Regions from separate parts of the Homo sapiens genome. Here region 2 is linked to region 1. The links are contacts of gene promoters, found by promoter capture Hi-C in blood cells and fetal thymus (Javierre and others, 2016). All regions are on one chromosome and are shown on one strand. Each heading gives the region's core, a stretch centred on a gene start or on the middle of the fragment in contact. The rest is flanking DNA. Distances are from core to core; before and after follow the strand shown. Region 1 holds the start of C7orf33 (chromosome 7 open reading frame 33). Region 2 overlaps EZH2 (enhancer of zeste 2 polycomb repressive complex 2 subunit).

Evidence for each region. Contacts are between HindIII fragments. The CHiCAGO score rates a contact against its expected background, and 5 or more counts as called.
Region 2: a fragment that was not itself captured here is called in contact with the fragment with the promoter of C7orf33 in region 1 in 10 of 17 cell types (activated CD4 T cells, naive CD4 T cells, non-activated CD4 T cells and 7 more); the score reaches 13.1 in activated CD4 T cells.

The regions. Positions count from the first base shown.
Region 1 is chr7:148,587,900-148,594,233 of GRCh38, forward strand. It overlaps C7orf33 (chromosome 7 open reading frame 33), which reads left to right and starts at 2,867. Exons shown (of 3, transcript NM_145304.4): 1 at 2,867-3,230. The coding sequence starts at 3,027. RefSeq lists a silencer at 6,024-6,224. The HindIII fragment of the contact is 1,806 bases long and covers 1,810-3,615 here.
Region 2 is chr7:148,849,199-148,855,532 of GRCh38, forward strand. The region is part of intron 1 of EZH2 (enhancer of zeste 2 polycomb repressive complex 2 subunit); the gene reads right to left. Among named protein-coding and RNA genes, the nearest start is that of EZH2, 32 kb to the right of the region's middle. The HindIII fragment of the contact is 1,046 bases long and covers 1,938-2,983 here.

The sequences.
Region 1 (6,334 bases), core at 1,617-4,116:
ACTATGCTTATAATTTGGACTTTGAACACCACGTGATCTCTGGCACCTGGTTATGGGGGTCCAGTATCCACAGCCCCCACTGGGAATTATGGCATTTCTCTTTTGTAGCATACAATACCAAATAATTAGGCTTTTTCTGTGAAAATAAACTGCTTTTAATACATGTATTATTAAACCAATAAAGCATTAATATTTACTAATTACTAATTTAAGCAAAGTAAAACCTATTTCAGAGTAAGGGAAAAGCATGCAGAAACACACATTGTTATGAGCTGTTGATAAACAAGGCTTAATATAATCCTGGTTTTCCTCATTCTATCTTAAAGGGACATTTCAAACTCTTGCTTTCATAAACAAAACTTTGTAATTTGAAAGAGTCCAGGTTTTTATAATGATCACGTTCCTTAAAATTAAACGACAGTTTTCACTTTTCTTAAAGGGAAAAGTGTTCAAAACTTTCTCACAGAGAAAGCATTGATTTTCCTCTGAGTTCCTCCCATGAACTGTCTTGATCGCTGCCAACTCAGTTCCTTCTGTATTCTGTGCATGTGGAATACACTGTTTTCTGCTTAACGAGTTATTTCCAACCCCATCCCCAGCCACACCTCAGTTCCACGAGTGTTCGTGGCTCAATGACCTAGGGACCCCAAGCATTCACCATAAATAAGGCTGTTTACTGACCTATTTTTACTAGGACTACTGAGATATGCTGAACCCTGGCGGGGGTGGGAGTCGGGGGGATTGAAGGTACACTTCTCCCTAGCACCATCAGTCATTGTTCAGATATTTAAATTTCACAAACAGAATCAATGGCCTGCTGGGGGCATTGTCACTTACACCGAGCAGGGCCATCTGTCGCAGCACTGGCATTTTCAGGCATTTTAGATGACAGCATTGCGGGATCTCGTTCTTTGTTCGTGGATTTCAGGATGAAGTCCTTCAATGGGGCTTCATGACTGACCAAGGTTTGAAATTGATAATGTCCCCAGATGGGGACTTGCTGATGCGGCTGCATTCACAGCAATTAGAAGATAATCTGGTGTAAAAACTGTCCGGAGAGCGAGGGGCACAGAATCCCTGAGCTCAGGTTGAGCAGGGGAAGAGAAAGCCAGATCTCCATTCTGGAGGCAGAGTTTTCCACTTTTCCCTAAGGGGTCGTCTCAGCAGCCGGCCTCTCAGCTACAACGTGCGGAAATCTCACTGCCCGATGTGCTAATCACAGAATTGCACAGGTACTCCCTGAATCCAACTTGGGTTATTAAAACAACAATGAGGCTTAGGCATTTGGCTCAGTCCACCCCCAGGGTGACCAGCTGGTCACCTCACTCCGCAACCCAAATCCAGGGGATTCATTCGTTGTCTAGGAATAACTTCTTCCACCTTGGGAATTCTCTGATTTACTCTTACCTAGGTCCACTGGTCTTGACCAAAATGTGAGGTGTCCTTAACTTAAGGTTTTGACTTTTAAGAGGCAGTCGAGGAAATAATATTATGAGGTCTGTCTATTTCTTTAGTGGTCAAAGACAGATAAGTAAAAAGGCAAAGCTAGAGTCCGAATGTATGGCTGCAGGTTCAAGATTCCAGGCCAAGTTCTTGGAACTCCAGCACCTCTAGACTCACCAGCCCCACCAGCCCCTCTGGCCCCTCCAGCCCCACCAGCCCCACCAGCCCCACCAGCCCCTCCAGCCCCTCCAGCTCTGCTGCAGGAAATCCTGCCTCAGGGAATCATGATGCACCACCCAAGGAAGTATTTGCAGAAAAAAGAGATTCCATTATTGCCTTCCCTCAAGGGTGGTGTTGAGCCCATTAAGCTTTTCCCCAGCAGTACACAGAGTAATCTTAGGGATTCTGGTGGGAAAAATATCCCAAATTCTGCTTCCTTATGCTTCACCACATGACCCTAGGGCACACGCACTAATCAAGAACAGCCCAGGGCATCCTGTCACCCCCCACGGTGCACCTGCAAACTGGCTTTTACAGCAACCTTGTCTTCCAAATGGGTCCGTATCTTTCTAGGCATCTTTTGTAATGCTAACCTGTTTGGCATTACCCAGAAATGCTAACATTTCTACCACTTTAACTAATCTTAAGAGATTAAATCACACTCCATGATACTCCTGACAACAAATAGCATTTTAACCAGTAATTTACGATAAGAAGATTTTCAATCAGTGGGCTAAGCCCTTCCCTGGTGATTTAAGAAACTGCCAGCCTCGATGGAGATTCTTCCATCAATTCCTCATCATTATAAAAGAAACAATGGAGGAAAAACTCATCCAATTAAGTGACAATTCCAATGTGTAAATCTTGTAATATTTTTTGCATTTGTGATATGGGTTCTACACTAAAAATGCAACTTGTCTAATCTGAATGAGATGAAAAATCCTGAAAAAGGATGTTATCCTCAATATTTTGTTTGTGCCTCTTGATTTAGTAAACTCCCAACCACTTTTTCATCCTTCCCTGCCAAACCCCGCTACAAAATGTTTCTCATTATGACCTGAGACATTAATTCTGATTGTAGAGGTTTTAGATCATTTCTTCTAGGTGTTAATCAGTTCTGGCCATATGGTGAGGGTGAGGTAATCATTATTACTTTACAATGAATGCCCTTAATTACTTTTTCAGTAGTAATATTAGTCCTTCTGTTTATTTGAGTACCTAAGAGCTGCAGGCAACGTGATCTGAATTACATGGAGGACAAGCTCCAGCTGACTTTCCGTAAACTCGCATTAGGATTCTAATAGGAGACGACAGGAGCAGGTGGGGATAATGAGCTGGCGGAAGGGGCTGCCTATCACACTGCTCGGTGGCCCCTCTTTCACCCCCACTTTGCCTCAGGCATTTTCTACTCAGCTGTGACCTTACTTATGGTGATGCCAATCCAGTGGTCAGGAGCGAGGCGCCCAGCCTGTGTCTGAATCCTCCTACTGACCCTGGGGATCCGTGCGACTTGATCTTAGATATTGGTGGTGAAGCGCCGCTCTCCTTGACAGCATCCAGGAAAGGTAATTACCTTTGCCAAAATGCAAGTGGAAGTTCAAAGCCTCAGCCTTGAAGAGTGTCCCTGGAGACTTCCAGGCCCCCAATGTGAATGTGAAGCCCTCCTGCCCAGTGGGGCAAGGCGCCGGATTGACCTTCGCCTGAGTGGGAGGGCAGTCGCTGTTTGGGTCCACGTTAGGGGCGGTCCAGGTCAATTTAACTTGTCATATGCCACGGGAAGACATAAGGTAAGTTAATGATTCTAAGATGAATCAACTGCTCTTTGAGTCAGTCAGTATCTCTTGAGAATTCATTCACTCAATCCATGAATGTTTTTGACTCTCTACTATGTGTTATGGAACTGGGCTTAACGACATTGAAGTAAAGAGAGAGACAGAGATTAATTCACTGCCCCAAAGAAGGCCTGGAATCTTCTTAGGGAAAAGAATCCTCACAAAACACTCCACTGAGTATTCTTGTGTTTAGCCTGAGTCATGTTGATTTGAAAAATTCCAGCGTAAAAATTGTATATTTTCACACAGTGTGGTAGAAGGAATGCGCTTGTTCTCAGACTATGTTTTGCCCTGGAGATGGGTCCACAGGAAGCCTCTATCTTGGTCACCCTTTGGCACAAGCTTTGCACCTGTTCCCTTCTCCTTGCCTAGATTCTTGTCTCTTCTCTCGCTTTAAAGACCAGGAGTTGTTGTTGTTGTTTTAGAGATAGTATCTTGCTCTGTCACCCAGGCTGGAGTGCAGTGTCACAATCATAGCTCACTGCAGCATCAACCTCCTGGCTTCAAGTGATCCTCCCAGAGGAGCCTCCCGGGTGGCTAGGACTACAGCCATGTGCCATCAGGCTTAGCTAATTTTTTTATTTTTTGTAGAAATGGGGTCTTGCCATGTTGCCCAGGCTGGTCTTGAACTCCTGTCCTCAAACGATCCTCCCACTTCAACATCCCGAAGTGCCACCCATGCCCAGCAAGACCTGGATCCTTAACTCTTTGCCTGTCTTTGATCTTTGACACCTCCTGATCCCCAAGCCCCTGCCTCCCACTAGGCAGGCATTTTTGGTTAAAGTATGAGCTCCCACTTTGTATTTATCTCCAGCTTTGGGTGTTCAGTTTGATGGGAACCACAGGTGTCCCCACCTAGTTCTCCAGCCCTAATTTGTTTTCTCCCATGTTGCAGTTCCTGGCTTCTTCCCATTTGCCCACACCCTCATTGTGGCACAGTGCCCCAAACTGACACATGCCACAGGCTCAGAGTATCTTCTGATATGAAGAATGACTCTGGTCATTCGAGGGCAGAGAGGATTTCATGACCTTTCCCTGAGAACAGCAGCATGAACTGCAGGGTCAGCAAGGGGGTTGTGTCTGCCTGCTGCTAAGGTCAGATGCAGACAGCCCATGTCAGGGAAAGCCCATTTAGCATAAGAAGAGTAAAAAGAAGAAAATACCTCCTCAGCCAGGGGTACTTTGATGTGAACCAATACAATTAGTCTCTGAATGATGAATATAAATGATAATCAATGACGTATATGTGCTTAAAAGAAGGTGAGAAAAGATTATCACTGCCTAAACCTTCCTTTTAAAGGATGCCACAAGTGCATGGGTGGAGCATATAGGGTAGATAGGATTTTTTTTTTTTTTTTGAGATGGAGTCTAGCTCTGTCGCCCAGGCTGGAGTACAGTGGCGTGATCTTGGCTCACTACAACCTCTGCCTCCTGGGTTCAAGCGATTCTCCTGTCTCAGCCTCCCAAGTAGCTGGGATTACAGGTGCACGCCACCATGCCCAGCTAATTTTTGTATTTTTAGTAGAGACAGGGTTTCACCATGTTGGCCAGGCTGGTCTCAAACTCCTGATCTCAGGTGACCTGCCTGCCTCAACCTCCCAAAGTGCTGGGATTTCACGTGGAAGCCACTGTGCCCCAGCAGGGTAGATATGATTTAAATCTTTTTTTTATTATTGTTTTTTTGAGATGGAGTTTCACTCTTGTCACCCAGGCTGAAGTGCAATGGCACGATCTCAGCTCACTACAACGTCCACCTCCTGAGTTCTAATGATTCTCCTGCCTCACCCTCCCCAGTAGCTGGGATTACAGGCACCCACCACCACATCCTACTAATTTTTGTATTTTTAGTAGATACAGGGTTTCATCATGTTCACCAGGCTGGTCTTAAACTGCTGACCTCAAGTGATCCACCCACCTCACCTCCCAAAGTCCTGGGATTACAGGCATGAGCCAACATGCCTGGCCGACACGATTTAAATCTAATTAGATCACTGGAAGATACAGCAAAGTCTCAAAGTGGTTGTCTATGGATGGCACTATGAGTTACGTATTATTTTTCCAAAGCTCAGAATGTTCTGAATTTCTTTATTTTTGTTATTCATTTTGAGATGGAGTCTTGCTCTTGTTACCCAGGCTGGAGTGCAATGGCTCAATCTTGGCTCACTGCAACATCCGCCTCCTGGATTCAAGTAATTCTCCTGCCTTAGCCTCCCAAGTAGCGGGAATTACAGGCACCTGCCACCACTCCCAGCTAATTTTTTTGTATTTTTAGTAGAGTCGAGGTTTCACCATGTTGGCCAGGCTGGTCTCGAACTCCTGACCTCAAATCATCTGCTTGCCTCAGCCTCCCAAAGTGCTGGGATTACAGGTGTGAGCCACTGCAACTGGCCTGAATTTCTTTAAATAGAGAATCTCTATTGCCTTCATAATAACATGTTTTAAAGTTAGTTTTTATTTTAAATGTTAATTTGAAGTCAAAATGCTTTTCCTCTGACTGGGTGTTTAATGCATTTAGGAAAGGCTGAGCATGAAGCCAGGGTCGGGGGATACAGCCTGTTTGGAGGGGATTGTAGAAACGGAGACTCCCAACTGGGATTGACAGGAAAGGGTCAGAGCCCAGAGAGATGCCTGCTGGAAAAGAAGTGACATGGTTGAATATTTGCCCGGCTAAGTGTCATGCTGGAATGTGATCCCTAGTGTTGGAGGTGGGGCCTAATGAGAGGTGATTGGATCATGGGGGTGGATTTGTCATGAATAGTTTAGCGCCATCCTCTTGGTGCTGTCCTTGCGATAGTGAGTGAGTTCTCACAAGATCGGGTTGTTTAAGTGTGTGGCACCTTCTCTTGCTTTCTTGCTCTCACTTTTGCTGTTCGATGTGCCTGCTTCTACTTTGCCTTCCGTCATGAGTGAAAGCTCCTTGAGGCCTCCCCAGAAGCCGAGCAGACGCCATGTTTCCTGTACAGCCTGCAGAACCATGAGCCAATTAAACCTCTTTTCTTTTTTTTTTTTTTTTTTTCTGAGACAGAGTCTTCGCTCTGTCGCCCAGGCTGGAGTGCAGT
Region 2 (6,334 bases), core at 1,211-3,710, 260 kb after region 1:
TTTATACAAAAGCACTTTGGGAGAAAGAAAAGAATATTAGGAACTGCAGAAGGATGGCAGGAAAGGTAACAAGGAACTCAATCTTAAAAGCTGAGCTGGATTTCAAAAGGCAAAGAAAGAACCTAAAGAAATCTTAGGTCTGAGCAAGAGAAAGCTGGACAGGGGGCAACTAAAGTCTGGCTGGCAGACATTTAATAAGAATGGACCTGGAGAATGAAAGTCACAAATTAAAAGGACTAAGGACCTGAAGGGAACGAAGAGATAAGAATGGGCAGGAATTTGAGTGTATTTGACATAAAGAAGGCTGATGAAATCACCAAGATAGAACTATTCCAAGTGAAAAGTTTCCAAGTGTGGCCTTGCCTGCGAGTTGCTAAAGTGGAATAAAGCTGACAGTCACTCGGATTAAGCAGGCTAAACTCAAGATGACCCCAGCTTTGAGGTAAAGCAGAAAATGGTGTTAGGAAGGCAGTGAGGTAGGACCAAAGGACATCAAAGATGAGAAGAAACTGGAGCATTATTATTTTTTAAATAATTTCATGACAATAGTTTTCTTCCTATCTGCTAGTTAGTTAACAGATGAACTCAACTAATTCTATGCAAATTACTTAAGACCACTTAGTGCTTCCAAGGCCTAGGAACTAGAAAGAAAAGGAATCAGATAAAAAGGAATGATCTGTAGCCTCATTCGCTCATAGGCTAATCACCTCTAGTCCATCTGCTGCCTAGACAAATTTCTCCTTGGAGGTAGCACCCCTGTGCAATAAGGCCTAGGGTAGTAACGTGTTTAGTTTTCACTGATGTATAATGTGGGTGTTATTACAATTTCTTTTTTTTTGAGATGGAGTCTCACTCTGTCCCCCAAGCTGGAGTGCGGTGGTGCAATCTCCGCTCACTGCAAGCTCTGCCTCCCGGGTTCACGCCATTCTCCTGCCTCAGCCTCCCAAGTAGGTGGGACTACCGGTGCCCGCCACCACGCCAGGCTAATTTTTTGTATTTTTAGTAGAGACAGGGTTTCACCGTGTTAGCCAGGATGGTCTCAATCTCCTGACCTTGTGATCCACCCGCCTCAGCCTCCCAAAGTGCTGGGATTACAGGTGTGAGCCACTGCGCCTGGCTTACAATTTATTTTTTAAGATACATATTTTATGTCTTGATGAAGACATTAGTTAGCATTTTATGTTTTAGTACTAGAACTGTCCTTGTCTAATATTCTGGAAGACTTTCCATGCTGTTTCTACCATTAATAACATACCTAATAAAGTATATCATGAAAATCTACAGCATCCAGGTAGTTCTTTGAAAGTGTAAGACTAAATAGGTAGACCTGTGAAAGAATATTAAAATTTAAAGTACCAATTAAAAGGATGTTTTACACAAAACAAACTCCCACCATCATAGCATTTATAACATATTAAAATCACATTTTCATGTATTTCACTCTATTCCCACTGTAAGTGCTTCAACAGCAAGAACCACTTTTACTCATTTGTAAAATCCCAGAGCCTGTGTGTGCCTGATAATTGTACAGTAGTCCCCACTTATCTCCCAAGACCGCCCCCCGCCAACCCCACAGCGGATGCCTAAAGCTGCAGATAGTACTAAACTCTAAATATACCATGTTTTTTCCTATACGTACATACCCATGAAGTTTAATTTATAAATAAGGCACAGTAAGAGACTGACAGCAATAACTAATGGTAAAATGAACAATTATAACAATATATTGTTACAAAAGTTACGTAGCTAGAGTCTTCTCTCTCTCAAAATATCGTAACATTTTCAGACTGCAGTTTGAATGAGTAACTAAAACCTTAGAAGGTGAAATTGTAGATTGGGGGTGGGGCGGCTATAGACTTAAAAACAAGCAAACAAACAGGTCTATTAACCCACATGAATAACGAGTAGCTTGTATCTTATCAGCATATCATTTGTAAAGCTTAGCTATAGGTATGAAAAGGAAGGGTGGCCTATCCATGCTTGAGCCAAAAAATGAGGTAAAGTGCACCCTATTATCAAGAAACCCCCCGCAAAAGGAGATAAATCGCAGGGTCAGTTAGGACCCTGTGGTTCAGTTGTCCCTACTACCAGTTAGAGATCTTCAGCCTAAAACTCAGTTTCCGGAATTTCTTTTTTAAAAGGAAGCTGATATTGCCTTAAAGACCTTATCCATAAAACCTACCTCAAAGTCTGGCAACAAAAACGAAATATACATGCAAACACACTTGGTTCTGTGCCTGGCATATAGTGAGCCTTTAGATGTTAGCTCCCCTGACCTCCTTCCCCCACAACAAACGACTGGCTCAAATCAGGCCTCTGACTCCATTTTCAGTGATCTTTTCACAACACCACAGCCAAGTAAGCATAGTATTAAAACACAGATTCAAGGCCACGTACAGTGGTTCAAGCCTGTAAACCCAGCATTTTGGGAGGCCAAGGTTGGAGGATTGAGCCCAGGAGTTCAAGACCAGCCTAGGCAATATAGTGAGACTCCCATCTCAAATCAATAAATAAGCAAGCAAGCAAGCCAGGTGTAGTGGCGCACACCTGTGGTCCCAACTACTCAGGAAGCTGAGGTGGGAGGATCTCTTGAGCCTGTGAGGTGGAGACTGCAGTGAACTGTCTTCACACCACTGCACTCCAGCCTAGGTGACAGAGCGAGACCCTGTCTCAAAAAAAGTAAAATAATAAAATACAGCTCTAAATATTCATATATTGGCAGAAGCCTTTATTTAAACGACTTCTACTGAATGGACACTGTGTAAATACATATGGTTTTTAAATTTTTCAAAGATTTGTTTAGTTTCATAGGTGAAATCCCACTAGTATGAACTTTATCCAGAATACAAAAGCAGCTTTTCCTGTTCAAAACAGATTATACCTCTATTCATTAAAACAAAAGTCTACCTGTATACAGTGAAACCAAAACAACAATGGCTCTTTAATACAAAAGCCAAACCAGAATATGGCAGGAGCCCATCAAAGCTTTAGCAGAATGTAGTGACACCTCACAGATTTACATTTACATAGGTTAACTAAAATTAAGGGCAATTACAGTGTTCACAATCTATTTTGTGAATCAAACCAAACTCAGAAATACCCTGAACACCATGCCTTACCATCTTACTTTATCCCACTAGAGTAGATGCTATGTTGTTTTTGCCACCCAGGGTCAATTCACCCTTCTCTTGGGAACTTCACACCAACTCTTCTCTGAGAACTACCAAGTACACTGGAGGAAGCTGACTCAAGCTGCTTGTGACCCTGGCCTGACCAAGGTACATCTCCCTAGACATAGTGACCAGTACAGGGTTAGATACACGGCCACAATCAGTGCAGTCACAGTGAAAATCTCAGGTTTCCTGCAATGCTAGGACAAGAATGCTCACTCTTCTCCCCTTAGGTCTAAACCTGGAAAAATGTTTGCCCAAGGACTTGTTGGAAGCCATCTTGGAGAAGAGCCTCAAAGAACAGAGTCAACAACTACAAAAAACAAAAGTCAAAGCCAAGAAAGAACTGTAGTCTCATGACCTAAGCCCTAAGTCAGGCAGACCTTCCCAAATTTCGGAACTATTCAGTTATATGAGCCAAGAAATTCCCATCTTTTTTTTCTTAATACAGAGGGTATCTCAGATACGTATTTATTACTGAGACCATATATACAGTTGTTCCTCCATATCCACGGAGGATTAGTTCCAGGACCCCCAACAGATACCAAAATCCACGAAGACTCAAGTCCCTGATATAAAATGGTACACTATTACATAACGTATACACATTCTCCCATATACTTTAAACCAGCAGTCTCCAACTTTTTTGCACCAGGGACTGGTTTTGTGGAAGACAGTTTTTCCACAAAGAGGGGAGAGGGTACATGGTTTCAGGATGAAACTGTTCCACCTCAGATCATCAGGCATTAGTTAGATTCTCATAAGGATGGCCAGGCATGGTGGCTCATATCCCAGCACTTTGGGAGGCCAAGGCAGGCAGATCACTTGAGGTCAGGAATTCGAGACCAGTCTGGCCAACATGGTAAAACCCTGTTTCTACTAAAAATACAAAAATTAGCTGGGTGTGGAGGCAGGTGCCTGTAATCCCAGCTACTCAGGAAGCTGAGGCAGGAGAATCACTTGAACCTGGGAGGCAGAGGTTGAGGTGAGCCAGGATCATGCCACTGCACTCCAGCCTAGGCAACACAGTGAGACGAGACTCCGTCTCCAAAAAAAAAAGATTCTTTTAAGGAGTGTGCAACCTAGATCCCTCACGTGTGCAGCTTACAATAGGGTTCACGCTTCCGTGAGAATCTAATGCTGCTGCCAATCTGACAGGAGGCGGAGCTCACCTCCTGCTGTACAGCCCAGTTCCTAACGGGCCACAGACGGGTACCAGTCCACGGCCTGGGGACTAGGGACCCCTGCTTTAAAACCATCTCTAGATTACTAAATACCTAATACAATGTAAATATTACATAAATAGTTGTTAAACTATTATGTTTAGGGAATAATGGCAAGAAAAAAGTATGTACATGTTCAGTACACACACTTTTGTTTCTTTTCAAGTATTTTTACCCACAGTTGGCTGAATCTACAAATGTAGAATCCCATTTACAGAGGGCCAACTGTATAGGAACATCTGAATTAATGGAAGATGGGCTCTCATAGCCTACTTCATTATCACCAACAGCATCGTCAGAAAAAGTAGAGCTTCCTCCATCCTCTCAGGTTTACAGAGGCCCCAGGACATGGCCAAGACACACCTTCCTACCTACCTCTCAGGTGGCCAGGCCACACAAGTCCAAGGAATCAGCACTGTTCTCTACCAGATACGCCCCTACTCCACTTGTGAGAGGTATTTACCTAAATCAGACATTCCTGTCCCTCTTTACCCAGCTGCCAATAACTGAATAATTTGAAAAAAGTCCCATAGGTATTGTCAGAGCCCTTATTGCTTCTTTAAAAATTCTACCGGGAGGCGCGGTGGCTCACGCCAATAATCCCAGCACTTTGGGAGGCCAAGATGGGCAGATCATGAGGTCAGGAGATCGAGACTAACACAGTGAAACCCCGTCTCTACTAAAAATACAAAAAATTAGCCAGGCGTGGTGGCGGGCACCTGTAGTCCCAGCTACTCGGGATGCTGAGGCAGGAGAATGGCGTGAACCCGGGAGGCAGAGCTTGCAGTGAGCCGAGATCGTGCCACTGCATTCCAGCCTGGGCGACACAGTGAGACTCCGTCTCAAAAAAAAAAAAAAAAAATTCTACCTCAAGGATTTGCTAAATCAAGGGAATGACCACCTATTTGGTCTGGCCAAATAAATGTTTCTGTTTCTATTTCTCTAAAGAAAACAATAAACTACATGTACTATTTATCCTTCTCAACTAAATTAATAGCAGCAACTTTGACTCTTAACTGAATACCAGGCTATGTAAGGTCAAATCCAAACCCAACAAGATGTAAGTAATATGATTACAATATTCTCAATGTCCTTCCTTTTAAAAATGTTTACTTCACAGCAAGACTGCCAAAAAATTGCCAATTTTGATAACTCTCCAGTCTTCAATAGTGCCTGTTTGTATGTTTAAATGCTTTGAAGGCAGCTGTTAGTATCATTTGGCAATTTCATTTATTTTTAATGTTACAATCCATTGTTTCAATATACTGAAATTTAAATCAATGGTAAATGAGATTTTGTAGGTAAGGATAAGAAAAACAATATAAAGAGAACTTAGACATATAGATGTTAAATTATTGGTAAGTGATAAAAATTAATTACTTAAGAGAAACAGATCCTATGCCTGAGGGGGAATATAGAAAACCTGTCCCTGTAAAAAGGAAGACCATGAGAGAGGAATCCAGGAGAAGCAGGCACGCAGTGCCATGCACTGGGCACTAGAATCAGGATTCAAAACAGACAAGATCAGAGATGGCAAGGAGAGTTCATCTCATACAACCACTTTGAGGGTTGTGTCCATAAGGATTATTGGCCTTAGGCCAGGCCATGTTCTAGCTCAGCAGAGAGAGTGCTGTCATGATTAATAATGCCTGTTACACACATGGGGCAAAGAATTGGGGTAGCAGCACTCTCTATTTCACACCAAATTCCAAGTAATAAACTAAACTAATAAGAGAAGAGTTAGTTGTATTAATTCTAAGTCCTATACACAGCATTAAACAAAAAGCAAGAGTTTGGACTCCAAAGCTCATTCCCTGGGTTCAGATCCAAGTTCTCCCACTTAGCAGCTGGGTGTGAAGTTGGCCAAGTTACTGCACATCTTTGTGCCTCACTCTCCTCATGAAAAAAGGCTAATTCAAGAGCCTCCACCTCAGAGTCATT